Linked DNA regions of Homo sapiens: region 1 is linked to region 2. Evidence: promoter capture Hi-C in human tissues and cell types (Jung and others, 2019). All regions are on one chromosome and are shown on one strand. Each heading gives the region's core, a stretch centred on a gene start or on the middle of the fragment in contact. The rest is flanking DNA. Distances are from core to core; before and after follow the strand shown.

The links. Contacts are between HindIII fragments. The study calls those that stand out against the background at their distance.
Region 1: a contact is called between the fragment with the promoter of PDLIM3 here and a fragment that was not itself captured in region 2, in 2 of the 25 tissues and cell types used here (liver and pancreas).

The regions. Positions count from the first base shown.
Region 1 is chr4:185,534,016-185,537,069 of GRCh38, reverse strand. PDLIM3 (PDZ and LIM domain 3) reads left to right here and starts at 1,563. Exons shown (of 8, transcript NM_014476.6): 1 at 1,563-1,728. The coding sequence starts at 1,636. The HindIII fragment of the contact is 14,334 bases long and covers 1-2,815 here.
Region 2 is chr4:185,399,555-185,402,575 of GRCh38, reverse strand. ANKRD37 (ankyrin repeat domain 37) reads right to left here. Exons shown (of 5, transcript NM_181726.4): 4 at 2,803-3,006; 5 at 2,335-2,559. The coding sequence ends at 2,559. UFSP2 (UFM1 specific peptidase 2) reads left to right here. Exons shown (of 12, transcript NM_018359.5): 12 at 2,098-3,021. The coding sequence ends at 2,184. Among named protein-coding and RNA genes, the nearest start is that of ANKRD37, 4.2 kb to the right of the region's middle. The HindIII fragment of the contact is 6,421 bases long and covers 1-3,021 here.

The DNA of each region.
Region 1 (3,054 bases), core at 314-2,813, 130 kb before region 2:
CCAAACCCAAAGCAGGATTTTCTAGGACCATTTAGGATGCAGCCAGTGCTTCTTCCTTAGAATTCTCCCTCCCAGCTAGTCTCACCTCTACCTTAACAGTCACTTCTGAGCACTTTCCTGCTGGTCTCCGTGAAGAGCAGGATGTAGGAAAACTGCCCATCTCATGTCCCTGCTTTCCACACTCTCTGCAAAGCCTTAGGAACTCATCAAGCCTGGGTGACAGATTAAGACTCTGTCTCCAAAAAAAAAAAAAAAAAACAAAAAGAAAGAACTCATCAGATATTATGTGGATATTGTATAGATATTGGCTACATCTAAATGATGCCAAAATGACCAGCAAAAAGGCAAAGAAAAAATCAGCTGTTTATATAAGCCAGCTCGTGAAGTAAGGTAAAAACAATTACTATAATTACACAACACCAAATGACTTGTCTGATTTTTTTTTTCTGAATGGACCTCTGTGTGTGTGCACGTGTATGTCTGCACCACGCAGACAGAGCCAGCAGCTGACTGAAGAAATGTGCTCTGCAGTGATACAGCCACAGCCCAAACAGGCAGTCAGCAGGACACACAATGTTCAGCTCCTCGATGGTCCAGCATAGATGGGGCACTGGGAAATGTGTGGAGCTAGAAAGTGCTTATCCCCTGGGACTTTTATGTAATCCACCACAGCGGACAAAGTAATGCCCATCCTACCTTTGTGATTTACATTTGCCCAGGCTGGTTCGCTTTGCTTACTGCTTACTGCTTACTGCTTTCTGCATCTCCTTTCTCTTTCCTCCATCAGTCTTAAAACTGCTTCCAAACAGACTGCCCTCTTAAAAGTCTGCTGCAGCTCTGTCCTCCTGGACCAATACGACCCTATCATATGGGGCATTAAGTCCAAGACCCTTATTCTTGAGTGTTTAAAGCATTTCTTATTTCTCTTCCCTCATTCTCCCCTCTCCCTTTGGGAATCACAACATCCCAACGCGTAACACCAGAAATACTTGAGTCCACACTGAGACTACCACAGGACCCCGGCCAGACTCTCCTGCACTTTGGGAGGCTGAGGTGGGAAGATTGTTTGAGCCCAGGAGTTCAAGACTAGCCTGGGCAACAAAGTGGAGACCCGGTCTCTAAGAAAAATAAATAAATAAAATAAAAATTTAAAAGGACATTAAGTAATTTGGCCAAAGCCGCAGAGGTCGTAAGTAAATATTAACGCACTCGAAACTGCTAAATAACTTATTGTATCGATGATGCTCGTTTTAATTGAAAGCATGGAGGCTGTGGTCTGGCTGCTTTCGCTTCCAACAAAGTGCACTGCTGCGCTCCAAGCAGAAGATAAACAGGGAGACAGGTGTGACTTCAAGAGAGCGACGGACGCTGTAACCCGAAGCCCCCGCGCCCGCCGCGGCCCGGGAGGCTGCCCCAGCCGGCCGGGCTGCGCACTCCCGCGGGGCTGGCGCGGCTCTCGCTTCCAAAGTTGGAGCTCTCCGGGGTGGGAGGGGGCGGGGAGGACGGCGGGGCGGTGACGTCACCCCCAGCGGGGATAAAGCGCCCCCGCCCGGGTCGGGGCCAGGACGCCGCCCGGCGCGGAGTGGCTGCCCTGCGCGGGGACACTTAGAGCCCGGTGGGCGGGAGGAAGGCGGCATGCCCCAGACGGTGATCCTCCCGGGCCCTGCGCCCTGGGGCTTCAGGCTCTCAGGGGGCATAGACTTCAACCAGCCTTTGGTCATCACCAGGGTAGGTGTCGGCATTCTTGCTTTTGCTGCGAGGTGGGGACTCCGGCGGCGTCCGGGGGGACGCAGTGGATGCCCCGGGGCCGAGGGCGGCCAGAAAGCGCGCGAGGGCGGGCGGACGGGGCGCTGCTGGCTCCCGGGCTTCGGCGCCCAGCTCCGGGGGCGGCGGCAACTCCGTCAAGTGGCTGCGGAGCGGCTCAGAGATTTGACAAAGTCCGCTCTAAAGGTGTCCCATCCTCTGGGTCCGCAGCGACTTTCCGAGGAGAGCCACTGGGCTCAGGGAAGGCGAGGCTGCCAGGCTCGAGTGCCTCCTCCCCTTTAGGTTTTAAATGTTTTATATGTGATAACAGAAATAAAACACACCCCATCGCCCTTCCGTAACAAATGATGGGTCCCGGGTGGGAGAGGCGAGGGACTGGCACCCCCCGGCATTCCCTGGAGCTGGCGCGCATCTGAGCGTTTTTCTCGTCCGGATGAAAAGTTCAGCAGCGCGCTGTTCGCGGGGCACGACCTGCGTTGGCCAAACTGGAGCCGCTCCTATCAGCCCAGACAGGGGAAGTCTTCCTAATGCTCACTCCTCAGTTTCCAGGCATTTTGAGCACGTTTTCCAAAGCTGAGAACTTGGCTTAGGAATTACCAACTTCTAACTCTAGCTACAAAGAAAACGTGGCAGACAGTTTAGTTTACCTGATGCAAAGTAAACCACTCAGCCTAAAACGGAAAATAATGCTTTAATGTCAAAGTCAAGCTTTACTTGGTGTTCTCTACTGTCTAATGAGAAAACAAGGTAAAAATAAAACCTCAGGGTTTCTCTCCTGTCAGTAAATTTGTAGAATTAATTCTAAAGCATTATTTGGTCTAGCTGGTTTTTTTCTAACACAATGTTTTTCTTCATAGAAAATTAATGTATTATTTCAGTTATCACATATAAAACATTTAATACCTAAAGGCGTAAACTTCCAGAATATTATACTTTTAGTTGCAGAGTATTATACTTTATTTTCTTGTATTCTTCTCATGCCATATTTTATAATTGTATGTGTTATAATCTGATTGATCTGCTCATACAGATTTTGAACAAGGTAATACCTTTTAAATTCTGTTTTATTTATATATGCCTATGAGATTTGGGAACCAACATCCTTTTAAAAATATGTCAAAATGTGTATCCTACAGACGCATACAATGGAACGTTTCAAGCCTTGTTTTACATTTTTCAAAAACATATAAACACATCTGACGTGTTTTTATATGAAACATGAAAACTGTTCAACATACCCCCAAAAACGTTCCTAAGTAAAGTAAGCAGAAAATGCTTCAGTGACCTGGG
Region 2 (3,021 bases), core at 456-2,955:
TGAACCCGGGAGGCAGAGGTTGCAGTGAGCTGAGATGGCGCCATTGCACCCCAGCCTGGGCAACAGGAGTGAAATTCCAGCTCAAAAAAAAGTTTTTAATGTGTGTAGTCCAACTCTGTTATATCCTCAGTTTACTGAAGTCTTTTGTTTATGATAAGGGTATAAACACTAATAGGATAGAAATGTGTTGTTACAGTTTTAAGTGTTTTTTTTTCCTTTTCTCTTTCACAGCATTTGGAATTTGAAGTCTATAAAAGGTTTTTTGACTGGTGCATGTATCTTACTGAATATAGTAGCAATATTCTTGTTCTGTAGCAAGGTGTTCATTCCATTCAGTATTTATTAAAGTACCTAACAAGTGCCAGGCACTGTCCTAAGCACTAGTATTACACGAGGTTTTTCGGGAGCTAAAACCTTTAGGGTAGGACAGAGAAGGAGAGTGCAAAAAGGACTCTCGAGAAAAAAAAAATGGTATCTCAGGTGCTTCTACGAGGCTGGTGCTGTGGTGGCCCCTGCCTTGTAGAAACAGTGAAAGCCGCACTGCAGGTAGATCAGTGCGTCCAGAGCTAGGCGAAGAGGTGAGGCTGGAAGGACACACCAAGCTCAGTCAGAAAGGGTGGTCTTTGTGAACCAGGCATTTCGATTTTTTCTTAAAGGCAGGGAGAAGCCTTAATTATTTTCATCATCAAATTTCTCTTTTCTGGTTGACTCAAGGGGCTCTGCACTACATGGCATTATCTAGGTAAGGTTTCTGAACAATTAGAGTAAGGGATTGTCCCTGATTTCTTTCTCTGAGAATTGCAATCTCCATCTTTGCTAGTTCTATTTCTATAGAACTTTTCAACAGCAGAAACCTCCTTGCTCTATTTGTATACACAAGAAACTGTGCAGCCAAGGTCCTGCCATTAAAACTATTGATTCACTTGACTCCAGGAACCCAGGAGGCCAGAGGAGAGTTCCATCTCTGCCTGACCTCTTTGCCTTCTTGTGGTGCTTTCCTGTTTGAAGTTCCCATGCTGGTCATCTCACAGGAAAGAAGCATGTCCTATGCACTATGTCCCTATGCAATCCCATTCTGACACCCTCTCTACCAATTTCTCCTTTAAAAAATCTGGATCTGGTTACCTGGACAAGGCCTTCATGTGTAAAAGGATCAAAAAAAGGTTAAAACAGAATGAGCCTTTTTTCTCTGTCTGTTAAGAGAACAGATTTTAGGACATTAAATTAATAGAGAAAGTTTTGCTGAAAAAATGAGATGATTAATAGAATGCTGGTTACCTAGGGAGAGTGGGGGATTACCTAGGACTGGTAGAGGATTTTTTACTTTTATCTTGTTTTTTGACAACGTGTATCTTATTAGGAGGGAGTCAGACCGCTGCTTGTCACTCACTTCATGGTATTTTCAGAGTCTCAGCCTCCTTGCAAGGATTTCTCAAAGCATTTAAGAATCATATAATACAGACCAGTTATTGGCTTTTAAGTTTTCTTCTTTAATAAAATAACTCAGTGGCCCTAGGAGAAATCTGAGAAATTTTCATACTCTAAATGAGATTTTGCTTGAAAGTAATTTTCTCTGCTGGCAAAAAGGATTAATACTGACATGAAACATGGGAAGTAGAATTGAGTAACACCTGGAATTTGAAAATGAAAGGGCACAGAGTGCCAGGCAGGGGGCAAGCTGAGGTTTCTCACTACAGTACTTCAATCCTAAGATGCCACTGAATGGTCTCTTACAGTCCTTTATGGACTATTAAGAAAAACAGATTGCTAGTTCAATTGTCACATGCTATCAGTTGCAAGTGGTAAAACTATACATCTCAGAATCAGTAAAGTGTGGTATCTGGAATAACAGTTACAGGTAAATTTTTTTTAATGATTTTTATGATGAATTACATACATAGAATTAAAAGTTCAAAAACCTACCTTAAAGGGTAAGATACGTTACTTTTCTATGCTAGTAGGAATTCAAATCCTTGAATGATAAAGCCATTTAGAGTCTTATTCCAAGGTCCTGCTGACAGAGCCTGATGTCACGATTTCCATGACATAATCTTGTAACTTTGTAAAAGGCTTTCCTTTCCCGTCTTCTCTATCCAGGGCTGGTGCGGATGGAAGGGCCCAGATTTTTGGAACAAGGATGCATACTATAACTTATGTCTTCCTCAGCGACCAAATATGATTTAAAATATCTTGGAGTCAAAGACTGCAGTAGAGTGGTATTATAAATTTGTGAATAAAGAATCAGTTTAATTTTTCACATTAAATCCTGGTTCTAGTTTGACGATTTAAATTATGACCTTTTTCAAAGGTTGTAAATACTGCACGGAGAATGTATTTTTTAGACGTTCCTTTAATAACTTAAAAGACAAAGCATACACAACCAGCATATTATAGGCATGTAAATACATGTGTTCTTAAATGGATCTTCACTTGGAAGAAAGTTTTTCGTCCTTCTCAGAAGGAGATTAGACACAACATATGGTAAAGCCAAAAGCAGGAGCTTATAGATTTGCATGAAATGAAGGCGTTCTTCAGACTTCTTCATAACCCACGTGACATCTGTTTTTAAAAACACGTTAACATTAAAAACTTTTTTTTAAAAAGAGTTTTATCCCCAAACTTCCACCATGCAGTCCCATTTTTGGTCTCTAGACTCTGGTAAGTATAACCAGTACTAAAATGTTAATGAGAATGAAACAATACTACTAGAAATACGAGTGTCAGTATTAAATGGAATAATAAATGCTATGCAAACAAGAGATCACTGCGGGAGGAAAAAAGCAGCAGCTCTGAGTTACTTACCAGCACTTCCTTTTCCCACTGGTATTTTCTACACTTCCGAGACTCCGTTTCTGTCTGAGCACGGCAACACAATCATTCCTGTCAGGGTGTTCACTTGCTTTTATTGTCTGCATACATTTAATTGTTGTAAGAAACTTGGCACAGTCTGGAAATCCACATGACCAAGCGAGATCTTCAGCTGTTTGCCCGTTCTTATTACATAAACTGAAAACAGGATAA